Regions from separate parts of the Homo sapiens genome. Here region 2 is linked to region 1. Evidence: promoter capture Hi-C in human tissues and cell types (Jung and others, 2019). All regions are on one chromosome and are shown on one strand. The core of a region is centred on a gene start or on the middle of the fragment in contact, and the rest is flanking DNA. Distances in the headings are between cores, read along the strand shown.

Region 1 (5,570 bases), core at 1,889-4,388:
GATGGGGGTTGTGCCGATCTGAGTATTTGCTTATTTCAGTCTTTTTATTTAAGGACAAGAACAGAAGAGTTTTCCATACAATGCGCAATTTAACTGCAGAAAGTCACGCTGCCCAAATAAAACATCAACTGAACAATCTGAAGGTGGGCCCAGAACTCAGTCTTCAGGGCCCAAGGCATCGAGCGGTGGGTGAGAAGAGTGTGCTTTTTAAAAGAGCTCCGCAGCGTCCCCTGCTGCCAGCTCCTAATATTTAAACACAGCTCTCTCCTCTCTGGCCTCCAAAAGGGGAGGAGAGCAGGCTGGCCCTTCCTGAGCTTCAATCAAGGGTCAGGCGCCTGCTCACTGGACCCGCTTAAAGGAACCCAAGCCCACTAGGCTTCTGTAGAGAGGATGGAGAGGCTAGCGGGGCAGTGAGAGAATATATAAGGGGAAAGAGAAAGACTAAAAGATGGAAACAGAAAGAGCCCAGGAAATAATACCAGGACTTCCCATAAAATGTCAATTAAGCGTAACCACCACGGTGACAATAAGGTATCATAAAGCTCTTTCCAAAAGAACTTTGCGTACTTTCAAAATGCTATGTGCAACATACCCCACGTTGAAAAGAGAAGAGGGAAACTGATTTAAAACATTATGAACCAAGACAGTGGAATGCTCTCTACTTTGTCCTGAGAAGACTGGAACATTCAAGTCCACTTCTGCAGCAGTGAGGTTGCTAGTTTCTATTTAAAAACTTGTCTTTGATATCAAAATGACTGCACATGAATCTCACCTTCTCAGAAGAAAATAGGAAGTCGTTGGGCAACATTATTTGAATTTAAATCGCCTCGTTCTCTGAAGGAACGTTTGGAAGAAAAAAATACAGGCCTTCCCCACGCCTCTCCTTAGCTTTTTAACCTGAAAAAGCGCCTGGAAGCTGGATCGGCAGACTCCCAGGTCGCATGATGGGTGACAGCCAAGTGCAGACACAGAGTCAAGGGCTACCAATCCTGAGCCAAACCTTCTCCCACTGAATGGGACTATCAACTGGGACAAGTAGCTGTTTCTGTAGTCCACAGCTAGAGGCGGGGGAGGGGACCCTGTAGACCTGCAATTCAATATCAAAACTGTAACTGACACAAGTTACTCTTAAATAGATAAATTAAAATGAAACAAAAACCTGGCCTAATAAGGAACAGTGAGTTTCACCTGGTCGGCTGACTCCATTCCTTCCCAAGTCCTCAAACCAGGTGGCATCTTTTAAACGAGTCCAGGATCTGGAGCAAGGAGGAATCTCCCTGCCAGCCGGTGGGGACTGCTGGGAACACATATGCTAGCATGTCATTTGGAAGTCTGCTAATATGTTGTAAGCAGCACAAGACGCTTGCCTGGCTTCCCAGGCCAATAAACAATGCCATTCCAACTCCTGCAGCAGTCAATAGGAAACAGTCCCTTTTCTCCACCATCCAACAATTGAACAAACATTTGTTCCTGTTGAACAACCGTCAGCCTGGCTCCATCTGCACCCGCTCCTGCAAGGCGAGCGCGGCGGCGAAGGCGACGGCACAAATGCCCACCCCAGGATCCCAGACCCGGAATGCAAGCCATTCCGGGGGCCACTTTCCTAACACCACCGAGTCCGGAGATTGTACCGTATGGAAGACTCGGAGTGTGGCCTATAGGAGGCAGAATCCCATTCATCAAACGCTGCAAAGAGCTTTTCTTTGTTCACCATCGTCCTAAGTACAGTACGTGTTAATGAGCCCGGGCGGTCAGATGGAAGGAGCTCGGCTTCAGGGGGCGTCCGAACGCGAGGGACCCGGGCAAACCTGTCCGCGCGGTTCGTCGCTGCTGCGGCGCCCCGGCCCGTACTACAAGCATTGTTCCCCAAGTCCGAAAATGGGGGTGGAGAGCTGGGGGCTGGGGGACAAGGTGGGGGGGCGGGGGGAGCGAGAACACACTTGGGACAACACAAACCGCAAACCCTCCCCGGATTCTGGGTGTCCTCGTTTCTTTCGTCTCTGCCCCAAGAGAAACCCTGAGCGGGGAACCTGACTCCCACGGGCTTGCAAAATCCAAGACTAGCAAAAATGTGACTCGACCAGTGTGCCTGTGCCGGACGGCCCTTCTCGCCATGTGCAAAAGCCACGCCGGCGCGGACGCCCCCACTCCGCAAGCCCCAGCGGTGGCCTCCCCGCGGGCTTCCCCCGCCCGGGACAGAATGCCCCCTCACCCCCATCCTGACCGCCCCGGACAGTCCAGCAGCAGCGGAGCCCGCCGCCTCGCTCCCGCACCCCGGGGGTGGCGGGTGCAAACTTCCGCGAACAAAAGAGTTGTCTGCAAACGATGCGGGAACTTCGGGGCGAATGGGGCCGCCCGGCTCCCGAGACTCCGCGCCTCCTCCGCAGCGGCTAGTCAGGGCTCAAGTTGAGACGCGGAGAGGACACCCCCGGGCGCAGCAGTCCCCGCGCCCGCCCGCCCTGGCCTGGGGAGCGCAGACTTTTCCGCCGCAGCCAGGCTTGTTCTTCCCCATGCCTGTGCTCTGACAAGTCTCACGCCTGCATCAGGGGCGAGACCGAGCGCCCGGAGAAACCGCCCGACCCAACCCAAAGGCGAAACAAGGCAGAAAAAAAGGAAACCAGCAACATTAGGAAAAAAGAAAAAAAAAAGGCAAGCCCATTGCGCACGCGAGCCGGGCTCCCTCCAGCCAGCGGCCGGGACGCACACGGCCCGGACCTCGCTCGGGGCCAGCCCCCCGGCCACCGCCGCCGCCGCCCGGCCCCGGGTCGCTTACTGTGCGCGGCGGGGCGCTCCGGGCGCGGACCCCGCGCCGTCACCGCCAGCGCTCGCCAAGTCGTCCGGGGTGCCCGCCGCGCGTCCGCCGCGCGCACGCTCGCCTGCCGGCGCCGAGCGCTTTGTACGAGCGACTCCCGGGGAGGAGGAAATCGACTTGTCACTTCCTGAAGTGTTTGCAACTCGTCCCTTTAACCGGCACCGGCCAGGCCGCCCGCACCCGCCGCCGCCGCGGAGCCGCCAGACCGCGGCTGCGTGAACTCGGCCCGGCGCTTAGCGGGCGGTGTCGCGGGCCCGGGCGCTAGGCGCGGCGGCGGCGTGCAGGAGGCAGGCGGCGTGCGGCGGCGGCGGCAGGCGAGTGTGCAGTGCGCGCAGCCGCCGATGGGCGGGGAGTGAGGGACTCGCGGCGCGCCGCCGGCGGGGCTAGAGGGCGTCCTGCGGGCTCAGCCGCGCGCCGCTCGCCGCGCTCGCGCCTGCGAGGCCCCGGGACGCGGGAAGTGGCCCCGGGCCTGGGCCGCGCCACCGCGGCTGCCCGGGCCCCGCGCCAGAGGCCCTACGGGCTTCTCTCCCCGCCCCCAGCACGAGCCGGGATGAAAACGCTGGGCCGCATAGGCTTCAGGCGTCCAGCTTCCGGGTTGTTAGATGCCGAGGTTCAAAAGAAACGATCACTTCAGTGGCGTGCAGGACAGCGGGCGGGTGGGGTCGGGGAGGGGGGACCTTAAAGTGTTGTCACACTTTGGGAAAATAAAGCGCAAATTTCCTAACTCGGGGCGCTGTGACTGTGTACTTCAGAAGCCACATCCAAAATACATGCAACTGGCGAAGGAAGGATTTGTGGTTGCTAAGCAGAGGCAGAGCATGTTTAGTTCTGTAACTTAGGATGTTGACTTAAGTTCAGGAATGTAACCCTGATAGAATAAGCAGAGTATTTTCATTGTGCTGCTCACCTGGGGGAGGGGGATTGTTTTCCTTGTGAAGCCCTAGATTTCCCATTACTCCTTCCTACTGGTGTATGTTATTTTATTGACCTTGTATCCAAAAAGCGATTTTTAAAGAGAAGTTTTTTTAAAACTCCCTATGCCTGTTTTGTGTTCTCCTTTGCCAAAAAAACAAAACACCTCATTACTTTACATGGATTGTGTCTGCGCCATTTGAATGGTTCTATTCATAAATAAGGAAACTTTTTCTGTTGCTTCTAGGAACATTTAATTGGTTTTAATCCAATGTTTCAATCCCAGTATCAAACATAAATGAACAATTAACTTCTTGAGCTTTGTGTGCTTGGGAAACTATTATATTTCATGGCTATTGCTGAAATATTTCAGAATATCATCACACCGGACCCATTCTTTTCAGAAAAGCATGAACTGACATCTCCTTTCACACTACAGCTCGCTCCACTGAGTTCTGCTGCATGATTAGAATGGACAGCAATCAGTGGAAAGGATATGAGTCTATTCATTTCAAGTTACATGATGTGGGATAGAGTCAGTTCATCCTAGAAAGCCAAAATGAGCTAACATACAGAATACAGCATACTAAGATATTGATATCCTTACCCATATACGTTGCTTTTTAAAAATGCATTAAGGACCAATCTTGAAAGGAACAAGATCCAAGAACCGATGGTGAACAAAAGAAGGCCCAAGGAATAATCTAAGAATGCTGCTATGCTTAACGAAAAGAGTCAGTGTTTCCCTAAAGCCATCTGATATCACACAATCACCTCAGCCTTTCAGAGCTTTAAGGACAGAGTTTAATTTACTAACGTTTTATTAGGAAGCCTAGAGTGACTCCTGCTGGCAAACATTCAGTTTATTCCTACAATTACTAGTTCATCAGGTCAACTTAAAAAACAAGATGCAGGGTCCCAGGCCTGGAAACAATTATTACAACCATTATTCTTGTTGCTTTCAGGATGATTTGCGTTTCACATTCCAAGGATGGTGGTCATGGCCAGTTCCTCTGCTGTAACACCTCCTTTCCAACCTAAAGCAGCCTGTTTTTCTGGTTCTGAGGCTTTCTTGAGGCTGTCTAGAATATACTTGCTTAAGAAGTTATGCTATTAACCAATAAATAGTTACTTCTCATTTTCTAGATTTGTATCTCCAAAGGCTAAAAAGATATGCATACATTAAGACCTGTGTCACACTTAACCTTCCATACTATAGGTTCTTCCCACATGATATAATAATCCTACAGCTATATTATAAAACATCCTCACTTCTTAGTGCTCAGCTCCATAGTTCTTTACTAAGAAAAAATTCTACCCAAAAGGTTGTTGTTATATTAGAGTTCTGCTCAATTCAGAAGAGTAGCTAAAAATGTAGAACTCTAGATTTAAAGCTATGTAAAAGCTGCAATGGGGTGGGGACATGGAGCTAAACTGTCTATCTTTGTTCAATCCAAAATGGTCAAAACCAGATTTTGCACACAACCAGACACCTAAATGCAAATTCATAGGCCAATTTAGGAATAAATCCATAAATAATCTAAAAACTATTACTTGTAACTTTTCCATTATCACCAACCAACGCTAACCTGATTAAGCCGGAGAACACCCTGGGAAATATAAAATGCAGGGATTACTTGCAGTCTTTTACATCAAGACCAATATATGACGGCCCGGCACAGTGGCTCACGCCTGTAATCCCAGCACTTTAGGAGGTCAAGGCGGGCGGATCACTTGAGGTCAGGAGTTTGAGACTAGCCTGGCCAACATGGTGAAACCTCATCTCTATTAAAAATACAAAAATTAGCCAGGCATGGTGGCAGACACCTGTAATCCCAGCTACTCA
Region 2 (5,570 bases), core at 1,954-4,453, 420 kb after region 1:
GTACAATTAGAGAGGGGGTTGTCAGGTGGGGGTTAAAAAAAAAAAAAGAGCGGGGGGGAGTCGGTATTCTTTACCTTATCTTTCTGAACAGGAAAAAGAATTAAACCCAAACCACCTAGTCAGGTTCAAAACAAGCTCCAAACCCAAGATCTTTTAATTCCCTCTAATAACTGCTTTCCACAGGGATGTAACTGGGGTCCCCTACCCCTGGGGCACAAAAAACCAATCAGCGCCATAAATTCCCTTTGCCTTCAACCCTCTCTCCCTTTTACAGGGGGGCAGGGTAGGGGGAGGGGGTGACCCAACATCAACACTTACACTCTACAGAAATATGCTGGCTTATTTCCTTTGTTTGCTCATGTTATACTTGATCAAGTGTGAACGATTAAACTGGTTTCATTAAAGGCAAGTGCATTCACGGCTAACATCCAACTTCAATGGCAACTGTAAGCATATTTTGCAAGAAAGAGGGCCTGTTTTTTTGCTTGAAATCTACCATCTCATTAACTTTTCTTTTGGGGGCAATAAAAAGGGCACTAGGGGTTTTTCAGGAGAATGTCAGAGCAGTTCAGAGATCTGATGCCAGACAAAAGAATATTTAGCGTTTCAACTCTACGATACAGTCTCTGCTAAAGAAAAAAATTCTGTTTCAACATTAAAGCAGCTATGACTGAAAATGTCTAATTAGCATTTTGACTATTACTTTATAATTGCTGTAAGAAGTATCCTTTGAAATCAAGTGATTACAAAAACAAGATCCTTTAAAGTCTCATTACTTCAAAATAGAAAAGATTTATATTTAAAAAAAAAGGGGGGGGTTAAAAACCTCAGAATTCTCAAAGTACATGAAAACTACCCACTTCTACTTGGAAAACCCTCGAGGCAAAACAGCAATCTTAGGTACTGAACACGAGGTAATTTTTAAACTGTCTTCGAACCCAAACACCTAGTAGAGAAAGCTATCTTTTTTGAAAGGGTGGTATGAGTCGATATATTTCGCCCAAGTTAGAAAGGCAGAAAGAATCACTTTGTAAACTTCCCCAAAATATAACGTCCCCTCAAAATTATCCATGTCAGATAAAAATATACCAGTCTCTAGAATATCCAACAGAATTGCAAATAAGGCGTTTAGCATTTTAAATTCCCAATGCATATTTATAGAATAGAATTCTCTTGTCTATCCTTCCAGCCACTCGCATCAGACTCTCTAAGAACTTAACCCGATCTCCAATCTTTAAAGAAAAAAGGGGGTAAATACACAGAAGGATTGTTTACCCCGGACAGGGCAAGGAAGCCCGGTATGACGACGTAGGCCATTGCCAGCAGCCTCCACCACGAGCACGCAGAGCGGGGATTTCTACGAAAAATTCCTCCTCTTCCCTATAAAATCCTAAACGTGGGGTCCTCTGCAGCCAACTGCCGCTTGGGCCGCCTCCGGAAAAAGTACCGGGCGGGGGGAGGGGGGACAACCACAAACACTCGCGCGCACACGCTCACTCCGTGTCCGCGACCGTCGTCGCCGGCGGAAAGCGAGCCACGGGAGGGAGTGTGTGCGCGCGTGTGTGTCTCGGCGCGGCCCGCGGTGACCGAGCTGAGCTCTTGGGCCCGCGGCCTCCGAGCCCCAGGGCGCGGCGTGGGCTGCAGGCGACCCGCCACGCCGCTGGGCCTCCCGCGGGAGAAAGGCCCAGGCACGCCCCGGCTCCCGCGCGCCTCTGCCCAACTCGCCCGGGGCGCTGGGGGCAGCGCGAGGGAGAGAAAGAAAGGCGCTTCCCCTCGGCCGCGCGGGGCCGTCCGGCGCCGCGGAGGGCTGGGAGGAGGAGGAACCGCGGCGGCCCGGCTGTCCCTGCGCCGCACCGGGTCCCTGCCGCCCGGGGCGCGCCCTAGCCAGCCCCTCCTGCTAAACTTTTTCTTTTTGATTCGCCCCACCCGAAAAGTGCGGCCCGGGCGGGGAAGGTGGGGGAGGCGGGCGGGCCGGGCTCCCGGCGGCGGCGGGCGAGGAGGAAGTGGTGCCCGCGGGAGCGCGGCCGGGCAGAGGAAATGCCCGGCCCGCCCGGCCCCCGCCCGCGCCCGCCGCCCGGCCCGCCCAGGCCCCCCGCCCCGCCGCGACTTTGGCGGGCCGAGCCCCGCGCGGCAGTGGCGGCGGCGGCAGCGGCAGCAGATGTGGCCCGGCTGCCCGGAGGAGCCAACAATGCGGGGCCGGCAAAACAAAAGGGTTCCACTTCGCCTCCTTTCCCGTCTTTCACTTGCGCTCCCGGGGAGCCGCGCGGGATCCCCCGCCGGCAGGGGCAGCGCCCCTGGGGACCGAGAGCCGCTCACGCCCCGACTTCCCCACGGAACCCCTCTTCTCCGCGCCCCCCCCACCCTCGCCTCGTAGGCGCAAGGCCCGCCGCACCCCGGCGCGCTCGGACTCCTGTTCCCCGGAGATCCGGCCGTATTGTCCCCGCGGCGCGTCGCGCGCTCGGCCTGGGTCGCCGGCGGCCCCCGGGCGCGCACCCACCGGGCTCAGGGAGCAGGAGCCGGGGGCGCCCAGGGAACCGTCGCCGAGACGCCGCCGCCGCCGCCGCCGCTGCCCTCCGGACGCCGCCGCGCTCGGGGTTTCTTTTTTTTTTTTTTTCAACCCTGATGGGAAGGAAGGTGACCGCCTACTTCGCATTCATCAACTCTCATCACAACAACAAAAATCCTGGCGCAAACGGCGGCCAGCGGGCGCAATCGGTGGCGGGGGCGGGCGGGGACCCCCGAGCCAGCGTCCACCCCCGGGCGCCGAGGGGGGACACGAGGCCGGGGGCACGGACCAAAGATGTCCTCGGATGCCGGCTCCGCGTCCTTCGCCCTCTTCCTCCTCCTCCTCCTCCTCCCTGAGTGGCGCAGTGAGGCGCGGGCGCGGCGCCCCCAGCCCGCGGCCGCAGGTGAGGCGGGGGCGGCGGCGGCCCCAGCCCTCCCCCGGGGCCCCCCTTACCTCGTCCCGGACGGTCGGCGTCCACGGCGAAAGGCGCCCACCCTGGAGGCGGCGGCGGCGGCGTCTCCCGCCCCTCCCACCCCACCCGGCGGCGGTGGCGGTGGCGGCGGCTGTGCGGCCCCCCCTCAGCGCGGCATGGCTCCCGGTTCGGTCCCTCGCTCCTCGGGCCGCCGCCGGCTCCTCCGGGCCGCTCCCGAGCCACCTTAAAATGACACACGCACACAGGGACACACACACAAAAACTTAATCTCTCCAGCTCCCCGCCCCTCCCCCTCCCGCCCTCCCCACCCTCCCTCCGCTCCCCTCCCCTCCCCACCCTACCCCTCCCTTCCCTTCCACCTCCTCCCCTCGCCGCCGAGCCTCTTCCTACTTCCCCACCCACCCCACCCCCTTCCTCCGCCCACCCGGTTCCCAATTCCCCCCGCGTCCCGGCCCCGCGCCCTCCCGCCCGCCGAGAGGGGGCTGCGCTGGGGGTCCCCGGCCCGGGCCCGCCCCGCGCCGCGCTCACCCCCGAGAGGATGCTAATTCCAACTTGGATCGGGGGAGGGAACGTCCTGGATGCCGAGCGCCTCCCGGCTATTTGCTCTTCTTTATTTGTTTTCTCCTCCGGGGAAGGAGAAGGAAAACGGAGAGAAAAGGAAAGGAAAGAAGCGGCGCTGGCCGCAGCTCCCGGTACCCGCTGGCTGCGCAGGAGCTAGGCGGGAGGCGAGGTGAGGGTCGCCGCTCGCTCACTCCTCGCTCCTGTTTTTGGGGGGGGGGGGCAAAGGCGGGGTCTCTTTTTGCAAACCAATGACACAACCCCACATGGGCCGGCCTCGCCCCCTTCAGATACTCCTCACTACAAATCGGCTCTCTCGGGGGATTAGTGGCTCCGCGAAAGTGCACACAAGCGCGGCGGGCGGGAGGGCCAGGGGCCGGGCGCGGCGGGCACTCCCTAGCCCGGCCCCGCCCGGGAGGCCCTCGGGAGGCGCGGGGGCCTCGGTGGCAGGGGCCGAGGTCCTGTCGCGGTGGCTCGGGGTCCGCTGCTCCCCTGGCCCTTCATCCTCCTCCGCCCCTTCCACGTGGGGTACCGGGCAGCCGGCCACGTGGGGGAACGCGAGCCCCGGGTGGCCCCGGTCCCATGGGGCCCCGCCCAGCCAGCGGCGCCAACCAGCCCCCTTCCCGGCCCCCGGGCTCCAACTTCCTCCTGGTGCCCCGCACCGGCCGCTTCTGCCTTCTCAGGCCCGCGGGGTCAGGCGCGGGCCGGCCACAGGGGGCACTTGCGCTCCCCAAATCCAGATCCGGGAGACCGTGCCGGAGAGGCGGCGACCGCTGTGGGTGCGCAGGGAAGGGCCCTCTGTGCTGCAAGTTGCAGCAGTGCTGTGCCCTAAAAGAAGCAAAACATTCTTACACATTGAAAAAAAAAAAAAAGGTTCCCTCTTGCTGCCTGGATCTCGCCGGGGCATTTGAGAAGCCCTGTGTTGGGTCGGAGCCCCGGGTCTCGAGGAGGGAGGCGCGCTGCGGCGTGGGGGCCCGCGACTCGGGGTCCTGGGCTTGCGCGGCGGCCCGGAGCCCACGCCGTCCTGACGTCTCAAGGTTGGAGTCTGCACAGCGAGCCTGGGAATCCAGGCCCAGCGGCCGCTCGCGGCCCAACGAGCACCTGGGCTAAATTCCCCGCCCGTGACCCGCGACGTCCGAGCGCCGTCTCCGGAAGGGAGCTGGTGGCCGTGGAGTGTGGGGTCTTCTCCCTGCGCCCCAGGGCCCCCCAAACTCTTCTCACTACCCTGAGTTCGGCGTGCGTCCTCCAAGAATCCCTGGGTGGGCTGAACTGAGCCCTTAGGATCGATTTGTTTAAAAACCCTATTGAGATATTAGGAGCTGGATTGAGATGTCGAGCAGGAAAGGAGTGGGAGGGGTCTGAGGTCCCGCCTTTGGAGGCCGCAGGGACCGCCATTCCGCGAACCCAGCCGCGCGGTGTGGTCTCCTCCATCCCTGAGTGCCCCGCGCCCTGCAGAGCCGAGGAAACTTACAGCCAGGGCCAGGGGGCCGGAGGAGAGGCCACCGAGCTGCACGACCCTTTTCTGCATCCCAAAGAGCGTTGCTCCAGGCCTCCCAGTCTTCATTAAACATTTCTTAAATCCTGCCCCAGCCCGCCGCGGGGCTTGTTTGCCAAAGCGCACCAGGTGCGTTGCGGCCTGAGCGGCCTGCAGTGGAGGGGCCGGGACTATCGAAGATTGCTTAATCACTCAACAAGATTTTAAAACGTGATTGAAGACCGCCTACCTGTGAGGGCAGCGCCGACCAGGCTTTTCTTGCCCGCTAGTCCACGTAATGCGGTCGCTAAGAAGCCCGCAGCAGGGTTTTCGCGTGACCTTCATAGGGCCTGGCCAGGCCAGCTGAGGGGCGCGCCGGGCTGCGCTTCCATCGAGGAACCTCCGCACATGCAATCACGGTTGTCTCGTCTTCTGGCAACCCTGGATCTCCACAAACTGATCTTCAGGGTGCTTCTCTCTTCAGCAGTTTTGCCTCAAGGGCATGGCGCCTCAGCTAGTTTTTGGCTGTAAACAAACCGCGGCCACCGCCAGGCTACCGGGTTACCAGTACCTGTTCTTCGGAGTTTCTTAGGCATAAA

Evidence for each region. The method cuts DNA at HindIII sites, captures the fragments that hold promoters and counts their contacts. A contact is called where the count stands out against the background at its distance.
Region 2: the fragment with the promoter of CTBP2 here is called in contact with the fragment with the promoter of FAM53B in region 1 in 1 of the 25 tissues and cell types used here (hippocampus).

What each region holds. Positions count from the first base shown.
Region 1 is chr10:124,741,240-124,746,809 of GRCh38, forward strand. It overlaps FAM53B (family with sequence similarity 53 member B), which reads right to left and starts at 3,139. Exons shown (of 5, transcript NM_014661.4): 1 at 2,774-3,139. RefSeq lists an enhancer at 21-140 and silencers at 2,018-2,097, 2,188-2,397, 2,718-2,877, 2,928-3,037, 3,058-3,107 and 1 more. The HindIII fragment of the contact is 11,231 bases long and covers 1-5,570 here.
Region 2 is chr10:125,157,360-125,162,929 of GRCh38, forward strand. It overlaps CTBP2 (C-terminal binding protein 2), which reads right to left and starts at 3,204. Exons shown (of 11, transcript NM_001329.4): 1 at 2,960-3,204. RefSeq lists an enhancer at 3,975-4,584. The HindIII fragment of the contact is 19,174 bases long and covers 1-5,570 here.